Linked DNA regions of Homo sapiens: region 2 is linked to region 1. Evidence: promoter capture Hi-C in human tissues and cell types (Jung and others, 2019). All regions are on one chromosome and are shown on one strand. Each heading gives the region's core, a stretch centred on a gene start or on the middle of the fragment in contact. The rest is flanking DNA. Distances are from core to core; before and after follow the strand shown.

Region 1 (4,731 bases), core at 454-2,953:
GCAAGCGGGAAGCCAGCCCCGCTGAAGGAGCAGGAGCACAGCGGTGCTTGGCTCCCCGGCGAGCGCAGGAAGCCTCGGGTGCAGCCCGCACCGGGCAGTGGCGCCTCCCGCCCGCCGCCTCCTCCAGCTCCGCGCGCTGCCGTCGCCCGCCCATGCTTCGACTCCGGAGGCCGCCCCCAGCCCGGAGCTCCAGGCTTCCCGACGCCGGCACCGCGGAGGGCGCCCCTCTACCCCCAGCACCGAGGGAGGAGAGCGGGACGCAGGGTCATTCCTTACGAAAAGCTCTAAACCGCGGCTTTCTTCATCGGCCACGAAGCTCCAAATCGCACCCGCAGCCCGGTGGGAGGCTCAACTCGCCCAGGAAAGTTTCCGCCCGCCCGAAGCGTGTGCCCAGCGCGTCCCCCAGCGCCCCGCGGCCTCGGAGCGGGCCTCCCGCCGCTGGCACTTGTTTATTTCCGAGGTTACAACAGCGCTGCCCGGGAGAAGGCAGCGAGGCCGATCGGCCACGAGAGGGGGTTCCTGCAACTCCCGCCGCCCCTCCGCCTCCGCCCAGGGGCGCCCCCGGAGCCGCCGCGCTCTCTGCCCCCGCGGGCCGCGCACCTCGCCAGGCGCAGAGCAAAGCTGGCAATCCGGCCCGCGGGGCTCTGCAGAGGCAGCGGGAGACCCGCTCGCCCTCCCGGGGCGCCCTCCCGCGCCGCGCCCGCCCGGCGTCCGGCTTCCCGGCCCAAGCCCGGCCCAGCTCCCAGCCCCCGGGGCCCCGCCGGACACGCAGGCTCCAGCCCCGCCGAGGGCTCGGGGGTGAGAGTGCCCCGCAGTCCTACCCCGCCGCCCACCCGCAGCGCGGGTCCTGCCGGCACCCACAGAACTGAGCGGCGCCGCTAGACGGACCCCCAGGCCTTGGGCAGGAGAGGTCGGGCAGGCGCCCCGCACTCGCGGATCCCTGGCCCGCAGCCGCCGGGCGCCCCACGCCTTCAGCCACGGCCGGGGCTGGGCTCGGCAACTCCCGCGGCGCGCGGCTCCCGGGCGATGGAGGGCGCGCCGGCTCCGCCAGTGGAAGCCTGCCCCATGCAGGCAAGCCGAGCTCCGGGTAGCGGCTACGGGCTTTGGGCGTTCGAGGGAGGCTCGGCGGGTCCGGTGCAGGCGGAGCTCCCCGGGTCCTCCACCGAGCCCCACTCCCACCCTGCTCCGCCGCTCCCCGCTGCCCAGGCGGCTTCCCGCTCCTGCCGACCGCAGGCAGCTTCGCCGAGCGCGGGCGCCGGGCTGGATGCAGCGGGGAGCGCGGCGGGGGAGCCCGGGAGAGCCCCGCCGGGTGTGTGAGCGCCCCGCGGGATCCGGGGACGACCTCCCGCTGCCCGGGGCTTCCGAACGGCGGGGGCGGGAGGCGGCAACTTACCCGGAGCGCGCCGGAGAGCGAGAGCAGCAGAAGGAGCACGCCGGCGCCCGCGGTCATCTTCCCCGCCGCCCGCCCGGTGCCCGGCACCGGGAGCCCGCTCCCTGCCGCCGCCGCCGCCGCCGCCGCCGAGACCACCGCCGCCGCTCCGATCGCCGCCGCCGCCGCCGCTCCCCCGCGCCTGCCCGGAGCCTCCAGCCCCGCTGCGCCCGCCGCGCTCGCCGCCCCGGCTCCGGGAGCCAGGCCAAGTCCGGCCGGCGGCGCGTTCCCTCGGGCCGGTGCGTCCGCCGGCCTCGCAGCCGCCCGCGCCTCTGTTCCGCGCGCTCGGAGCTGCAGGTGAAGCCGCGGCCGCCCCGCCGAGGCCCCGCCCCGCCGCCCGGCCCCTGCGCTCGCTCTGCCGACGCGGGCCTTAAAGGCGCAGAGCCCGCGCCCGCGCCCCCCGCGCCGCACCAGCCCAGCCTCTGCCCTCCTGGACGTCTGGAGCCGCCCGGTTGCGGCCGAAGAGGCCAAGGACGCTCGTTTTCCAGGGGAAAAAGGCGCGGGTGTGGAGACTGAAGACAGCGCTGGGGTTTCCGCCCCCACACCCGGGGCACCCTTTCTGGATGGGGCGGTCCCGCCGCGGTCTTAGTCCGACTTCCCGCCCGGGCCCGCGGTGGGAGTGTGCACTTCCATTCTGTCCTTTTATTTTTCAGGTGTCTCCTTGCTAACTCCCCTGACCCGGGCTTGAACCCAGGTCGGGCAGCTCAGGGGTGAGAGTTTCCACCTGGAGCAGATGAGCAGAGGGCCACGCTGAGATTTCAGCCTGTGGGGCTTTGCAGACCCTCCCGCTCCTAGGAAAACTCAAAGCCCTGGCCTGGGCTAGGGATGTACCCTAGGATTGGGGACGGTAGTAATTCCTGTGTGTGCATCAAAACACCCTGTTAGGCCTCAGAAGCCAAGAAAGAAATTAGAAGCTCCAAGAAAGAAAGAAGTGCCCAGACAGGAGCTGTCAGGAGTGTCTGCGCCGACAGGCTGGGCCAGCTCCAGCTCCCTTTGCCCTGCATGGGTGATGGCTGAACTGGGGGGCACTTCTTTAAGGGTTATCAGGTAAAATATATGTACAGGTCGGACAGTGAGTAAATGTTTCTGCACTTTTCCTTTTGGCTTGGAGATTTAAAGAAACGCGGTTTTGTTTGTTCAGATACATCGAATTTTCTTTGTCTGGGGTTTCAGGGACTCTGTGTCCAGAATACATTAGTTCTGGTTTAAGAAATAGGTTGCAAAGGAGAGGGTGGAAGATTGAGTGACACTGTTGAGCTCCAAGATCAGAGTCCACTTGGGCAAGCCAGTAGAGAAAGCTACAGAGCAGCCGCTTCCCTCTCTCCCTCCCAGAACCCCCACCCTTGGGGGCAGGGTGGTCTCCCGGTTAGAGCTCTGCCTTACGCTTAAGGAAACCAGATTTTAGATAACCCCAGAGGACCAGAGTAAGCACTACATCCGAGAGCACAAGGCGAGATTCGGTTTTGCAACTTAACTATGGAACTAGTCAGGAGACACAAAATCTGCCCCAGCCTGGACTCCTATCAGTTATGGCCTTGTCCCACTCCCCACCTAGCCGAAGAAGGAGAGGTTACCAGTTGACATGGCTGGAGGTTTAGACTCACTCGAAGGTCCTGCGTAGCCAGTGAGGTTTCATGAACAGATCCATCCAAAATCCTCATGGACAGAGAATTCCATTCCTCGGCCATGTGCCCGTCCTTTGGGAAGACGCCCCCTCTGCTTTCCTCCTTATTCAAGGTGCTTCACCACTGCTCGAGCGACATCAGAAGCTGTCCAAGACTGCTTTAGACACCAAGACAGCTCTCTTGTCTTGTGTCCCTGGTCTATTTTCTTAAAATATCTGTCGCTGGGGATACACCTTTGTCTGCAGGAGGCCTGAGCATTATGCGAGTTATTTCTTTGGAGAGGCATCACAGACCCCCGCATTTGCTCCAACGTGCTCTGCGAAACTGTTGAAGCGCTGAGGAGCGCGCCAATTTGAAAAAGAAAAGGTATGAGTGTGTGGCAGGGAGACTGGGGTCCAGGAGCAGGTGGGTCCTGAACTCCAAACACTGTGTTAAGCACATCTCCCTCTACTACTGAATGAATCTTGAGTCTACTGCAGCGTGATTTCCAGAAAGGGTAGAGTTTGACAATAGCCTGTCCTTACAAGGTGCTAGCTATGTGCCAGGGACATGTGTAGGAGCTTTATGTAAAGTTGCTCTTGGAGTCCTTCTAACTCCACTATACAGTCAGGCAGAGGAGGGTGCAGAGGGCAGGCACGGGGAAAGCTGCAGTGCCAGCATTCTCACCCAGAGCTGGGACCCTGGCACACGCAGCATGGCCCCAACTTTGTTCAAAGAAACCTTCTTACACAGCTGTAATGTCTTACGGGAACTCGCATTTTCCGAAATACATAGTTTCAGAAACACTGCAGTAACTGACAGGAGTCCAGTAGAGAGCATTGGTTTATCAGACTTACTCTGAATGCAGCAGCAAAGATTGCTGAGACAGAAAAGAAAAATATGACCTAAAATACAAAGCAGTGCCTCCAAAGAATGGTCTTCAGCCTGTCACTCTGAGTGTGGTCCCCAGACCAGCAGCATCAAGATCCCCCAGGAGCTTGTTAAAAATGCAGAAACTCAGGCCTTACCCCAGACCTGCTACATTGATTCTGAATGCTGATGGGATTCCCCGCCACGCCCACCTCTGGTCTGCAATCATCTGCAACAAAATCACAGAGAAACTCATGAAAAATGCCAGTTCCTAGGCTCCACCTGAAATCCATGGACTTGGAGCTTTTGCAAGTGGGGCCTGGAAGCTGACCTTGTAACAATCTCTCCAGTCCATGCTCATGCCACTAGCATTTGAGAATCACGGCCTGTCCCACAGACAGTATGTCCCACGTAACAGAGCAGCAGCTGGAAGCATCAGAAAAATGCTCTCTCCTATGCCCCACCCTGGATTTCCAGAACCTGGACCTCCAGGGGTGGAGCCTGGGCCTCTGCCTGGGGTAGCTGGAGAAACCCTGGCACAGTGTTTGGCACATTGGCCAGTGGGACTGTGGCCTGCCTTTGGTCCACCCAGTGCAGGGAAGACCACAGCTGGCCTGGAGGAGGAGCTAGTCTCTCTGCACTTTGGATAAAGAGCCCTAGAAAAATGTGTGCGTTTGTTTCTAAGAGAGATTAAGAGAATGCATTTGGGAGGTAGTGTATAAGTGACTGTTTGCTCTCAACACCTGTAAACTGTTGACAGTAATTGGACTACAGATGTTTGCTAAGCTTGATAGACTTCTCTGTCTCCCTCTCGATGAGGTGAGTCTG
Region 2 (5,435 bases), core at 2,284-4,783, 620 kb before region 1:
CTGCTCAGTGCCCCACACTTGGGGGACGCCATGGGACTCGGGAGCCGAGGCCTCTGTTTCGGAGGGAGGTGGAAGCCCCAAGATGACGGCTCCTTGGCTGGGTCCACCTTCTCACCGCTGTCCTTCCCTCTCTTCTCTTCTTTTGGGAGGGGGCGGAGGGGAGATCAAGAAGACTTCAGGGGCACAAATCCGGCCCGAGGTGGGTCAGCAGCAGATTTGTCTCAATTGCTAATATTTTTTTTTCTGCAAGACAACATAGCCATATTCGGTGTCTTCAAAACAGGGTTCCATGACAGTGATTCAAAACCCAGCCAGCGGGAAACGCTGAACCCCGCCTGCCCCAGGCTACTGCCCTCCCCAGGCAGATGCCTCTGGGTGGGGCTTACGAGAGGCTCGCTGTCTGGGAGAAATGCCTTCAGAAAGCCACGCCGCTCTCAGAGGGAAAGGGGACATTCTGGTCACCGACGAACACTTTCTACTGGAATTTGAATCATGTGAATACATTAACTAAAGTCGATGGTGGTGAGAACGATATCCTGAGCAGTAGAACAGAGCCACGTTATCACTCTCCATCCATTGGATGACAGCACCGGGCGGGCAGAGGGTCTTGAAGACGTTCGGGGAGGTGTGGGTTTTGCTTTCCCCAGAATCCTTTCAGACCAGGAGATCACGAATTCGGCCCCCCTTGTTTGGGAAGAAATTTCAAGCTGATGGAGGTGACCAGGTGATAGTCCTCTTGTGATAGGACCGGAAGGCCGGATTCAGTTTCTAATAACAAAATCAACATCCTCGGGAGCAGCCTGGAAGGGACGCTGAGAACAATGCTGGCCCGGTGCTAATTTCACTGCCCAACAATCGGAACAGCGCCTGCGTCTGCAGAGCCCACTCTCACCTTCAGGACGGGGCTCGGGCGGCACGTTCACCTCCTCATTAGGCCATAAATATTCTAATTAGGAAACAACGCCAGATGAATAGGATTAGCAAGTGGGGCATCTTCGGCTGGTACACGAGAGACACTTGAACCGCTCAGGTCTTATCGAAGCCTCTCCTGACATCTTAATCAAGTAGAAGCGCTCAATTTACATAGCTCTGCCTAATTAGACACGGCGGCAATGATGTTTGTGGATTTTCTTCTTCCTAAAGATGACTCACTCTGTCAGATGGAGGCTGGTGCTGAGAAGTATCTCTGGTGCTTCCCCCGAAGACTCTGCTTGTTGCCCAAGGGCAGGGGAGATGAATCTTTTTAAAGGGGGAGGAAGAGAAAAAGGAACTACCGATGTGTCCTTTTCAGAAGTGGCTGAGCTGTCCGGCCGATGCAAGGCAAGCTGGGCTGGTGGAGAAATGGTCCCGATGTGTGCTCTTCTCTGATACGCCAAGCCAGACAGAAATCAGCTTCTCGGGCTCAGCAGGCCTGGGCCCAGGGGGGCAGTGGCTCTGCTGGGTGAAGGCCGGGTCCCGGGGGAGCTGAACTGGTGCTCGCTTGGCGTCTACACTGCTGTCAGTGGCCGCCTGCGTGGGTTTACTAATGCCTGGCAACGGTGGTCCTGGAGCCGTTGTCTTAAAACCTGTTGTTGTTTTATTGTTTGCTGCTGAAAATCCGACAACGTGCATCCTCTGCTGCAGAAGCGGTTATAATTATAAACCATCATTCAATTTCCCCAGGAGGTGGGCGAAGGAAGAGCAGGGCAGCTCTGAACATTAAGCACAGACCCACACTGAAAGCAGAGCCCTGGCGAGGGGCGCCCTGGCCTCGGCACACCCCCGCCGAGTCTTTGGCAGCTTCCAGGACTTCTATTCCGAGGCAAAGGCGAAAAAGTGGGAGAGACTGTGTGCAAGGCGGGAGACAGGACCTGGAATGGCTGAGCGGGCAGAGTGGGGTGGCCAATGCCAGGGCCCTGCGTCTCCTCCGGCCAAGGGGTCACAAATTCAGAGGTCACCTACGACTTTGAGACTATGCCATAAACTGCTGCAGAGACTGGCCCAAGGGGATGACCTCTCCATGTCTGGGGAGGGAAGCCCGCCTCAATGTCCCCACTGGGAGGGGCTGCTGAAGACCTGGGGCCAGGCGGGGGCCCTGGGACATGGCTGCTGCGTGCTGGAGGCAGCTTCCCTAATGGAAGCCCTCGAGCTGGTGCCTTTAGAAGGGGAAACAGACTTGTTTGCACAAGGAAAATAACGTGGAAATGACATGAACACCTTTGGTTCTGCTCACGAGAAGCCCTGAGGGCGCCCAACACTGTCTCTGTACCCAAATGGAGCCAGCTGCAGGCCACGCCTGGGTCTGTCTCAGATTCAAGACCCACAGCCACCTTCCAGCCGGGGGCTGCATTGAACCTGGGGAGGGAGCAGCTCAGGGACCTGGATGTTCCTAGGCTTGGGCTCGGTTTGAAAGGGGCAGGGGGAACAGAAGGTGGGAGGGGTCCTGCTGCCGGGCACGTGCTGCCCATGAAGGTCTTGTTTTGATCGTGGCTGGAAATGAGGACGCCATGGCCACGATGGGGCCTTAGCTTTGCCCCAGCTGCCCCAGGCCTACAGCTCAGCTCCTGGCCACTCACGCAGGCCAGGGCCTGTTGTCCTCTCTGGGATGACCACGCCCGTCTGTGTCCACGAAGTCCTCCCTCTGGGGCCCCCGTGGTTCCTGGTGATGACCCTGTCACAGTCTGCTTGGGGCCGGGCCTCATTTGGGTTACACCTCATCCCCTGCCTGGGGGTCCTCCCAGCCAAAGACGCGTTGTCACACAATGGACCCCAGGGACGTTCCGGGGGTCATGGCCCCAAAGTCCAGCCCCATGACCGTCCCCTGAGCCCCTGAACCATGGCTCTGCTGTCCCCCCACGATGCTGGTCCACATGGGGGTCCCAGGTTTCACTGCATCAACCAGCTTGTTTCACACGCACAAGACAGAAACTGATCTTCCTGGAATCGAATGTTAGCAGCTGAAGGATCATCAAGGAAAATAACCACACAACCTATGTTCCCGACGAGCCCTGGAAGAGGAAGACACGGGACCGCCCTCTCCAGCACACCACGCCTGAGATGCACCAGACGGGGCCTCCCGTCGGATAGAAGCCGGGCTGTTCACATCCCCAGGCACACACAGCGGAGAACGCCAGCGCCCGCAACACCAGCGTCTCCTCATGTTCCTCAATCTTCATAAATCTCCGTCTGTCAACCACACCTCTAATGGCTTTTAAATGAGCATTTTATGTGGAACATTTTGCAGGCCACGCTGAAGCTGCCGACAGCGGGGGGTGGGGGGTGGGGGGTGGGTACCGCTCTGTGTCTGCTGTGGGCCTTGGGGAGCAGGCTGGCCCCGCCTTGCCTCGGTGTCTGGCCTGGGCAGGGGGTCCAGCTGCCGGGTCAGCCTCACTGGGGCCTGGCCAGTGGGTGGGGAGATCTCTGGGTGGCTGGGACTGCTAGCCCTCCCTTGGCCGAGCTGCCATGATCTGTAGGGGCAGGGGGAGCTGAGCCCAGGAGGCTGGGCACTGTCCCTATCACGGGCCTTGACATGCCCACAGGAATGCCTGGCCCAGGGAGGCCAGGGGGTGTCCCTCCCGTAGGGTGCACCAGGCCAGCTGGGGGAACCCCAGGGGGTCGTGGGCTCCGTGGCGCTCTTGATCCCTCCCAAGGTCAGAGCCTGCACCCATACTAACTGCCGGGGCCTTGTGAGATTTTCAGCTATGAAGAGGGGTCCACAGATGTTGCCTAGATATATTTTCAGCCTGGAAAATATCACATATTCTTTCCTACAATATAAACTACAAAGTACCCCAGACCTCCCAGCCCTCCACCCGGCAGTGGGAAAGCTTTAGCTGTTTGTCTTTAGTCCCTTTATCTATAGACATTCGTGCTGAAGGAGACCAGATGGTCCTGAAGCCACAGGGACCCCCTCAACCCCACTGGAAACCAGAGGGAGGGCGGACCGACACGAAACCAGTGCAGGCCAGAGCAGGTGGCCTATGGTCCCCTTTAGATCCCCAGCTTATCATTATAATACGAAAACCCCGGCCCTAAGGGAAGACTGCTGCCATGTTGTACACCAGATGTAAGAAGAGATGTGTTCATGGACTGCGTCTGCACGTCTAGAACCCTCCGCACGCCTGCATGCCTCCCCTGCAGGCACCCAATCCCGTGAAACTCCCACACCTTCCCCTTCCCAGTTCTCCGGTCGCTCAGTAGAACCAGCTGCCTCTCCAATTGGACGTTGCTCTCTCGCGGCCGATATAGAGTAGGGAGAGAACGGTTTCCTGCGGCCAGCATGCAGCCAGCCATGCCCCTGCACTGGGACTGGACGGCGAGGCCCCATCGGATCTCCCTAAGCATCCCCACTGCCCTTTTGGCCCCTGTGCTTTCCCCGTCACACACCAGGAGCTGATGGCACGCAGGTGGGGCAGTCTGTGGGCTCTAGGTAACCCCTGACCCTGCCCCTGCAAGGGGCCATCCCAGAGGTGCCGGCGCTCACAGGCCTGACCCTTGCTCGGCTGTCCTGTCCTCTCCTTGGACACAGCCGGCAGCCGTGCCATCCCATCTGTACCTCTGGAGCATCACGTGTGTGGGAGTGTGTGGACAGGGGCTTGCACGCACACGCTCCAGTCAGACCACCTGCTCTGCCAAAAGCTGTGCAAACGTCCCAGAGAGGTGCCAGCCTGTGGAAACGAGCTGCTCACAGGTGTGTGTGTGTGTGTGTGTTGGGGGAGCGCAAACAGGGGCTGCCCTCTCTCCCCAGGGCAGGCGGGGGACCCCAGGCTACAGAGGAGATGGGGGACGGTATCTGGTTCCTGTACATCTGTATGGGCCTCACTAACAGCACTCCTGACTCGGCCATGTGCCCATGGGATCATCTCCCTAGCTGAATGACGGGACCAGGGCCAGGTGCAGCTCATCTGCAAAGCCTTGTCTGAGCGGAGCGGGCGCTGGTTCATGGCCACTGGAGGGCGGTGGGGCCTCAGCGGATCCTGCAGTCCTGAGGTGAAGGTGCTGGGACTGACCACAGCTCACTCGGAGCCCCAGGCATTCTGGCCAACATCACTCTAAGAACGTTTATGTAAATCCTGCATCAAAAGTCCTCGCCTGTGCCATCCGTGCCAGCCCTCACGCTGCCTGCCACACGACTCCATCTCTGATCCTTGGAGTCCAAGGCTGTCATCATCCTTCTGTCTCTCAGATGAAAGGTGCCACGGCTGGGGCTGACAACGTCCTCTGCTGTGCGGGTCTGAGTCCTGAGCCCGTGCTGAACCCGGCGGCCACCTCGCCTTCCCCGCAAGCCGCATGGCTGCCAAGGGTTACCCCCCAACTGGCCTCTCTGCCCCCATGTGTTACCCTGGGCACCACCCCCTTACGATTTAGGAATTTCCAGGAAATCCCCTTTGTGCTCTTCCCAGGGACAGAGACGGGTGGGATTTTCCAGGCTGCAGCTTGGCTTTGGTTGATTTGAA

Evidence for each region. Contacts are between HindIII fragments. The study calls those that stand out against the background at their distance.
Region 2: a contact is called between a fragment that was not itself captured here and the fragment with the promoter of CDH4 in region 1, in 1 of the 25 tissues and cell types used here (dorsolateral prefrontal cortex).

The regions. Positions count from the first base shown.
Region 1 is chr20:61,249,233-61,253,963 of GRCh38, reverse strand. It overlaps CDH4 (cadherin 4), which reads right to left and starts at 1,703. Exons shown (of 16, transcript NM_001794.5): 1 at 1,394-1,703. The coding sequence starts at 1,450. The HindIII fragment of the contact is 10,940 bases long and covers 1-4,731 here.
Region 2 is chr20:61,875,192-61,880,626 of GRCh38, reverse strand. The region is part of intron 7 of CDH4 (cadherin 4); the gene reads right to left. Among named protein-coding and RNA genes, the nearest start is that of MIR1257, 76 kb to the left of the region's middle. RefSeq lists enhancers at 1,016-1,516, 1,517-2,017. The HindIII fragment of the contact is 6,175 bases long and covers 446-5,435 here.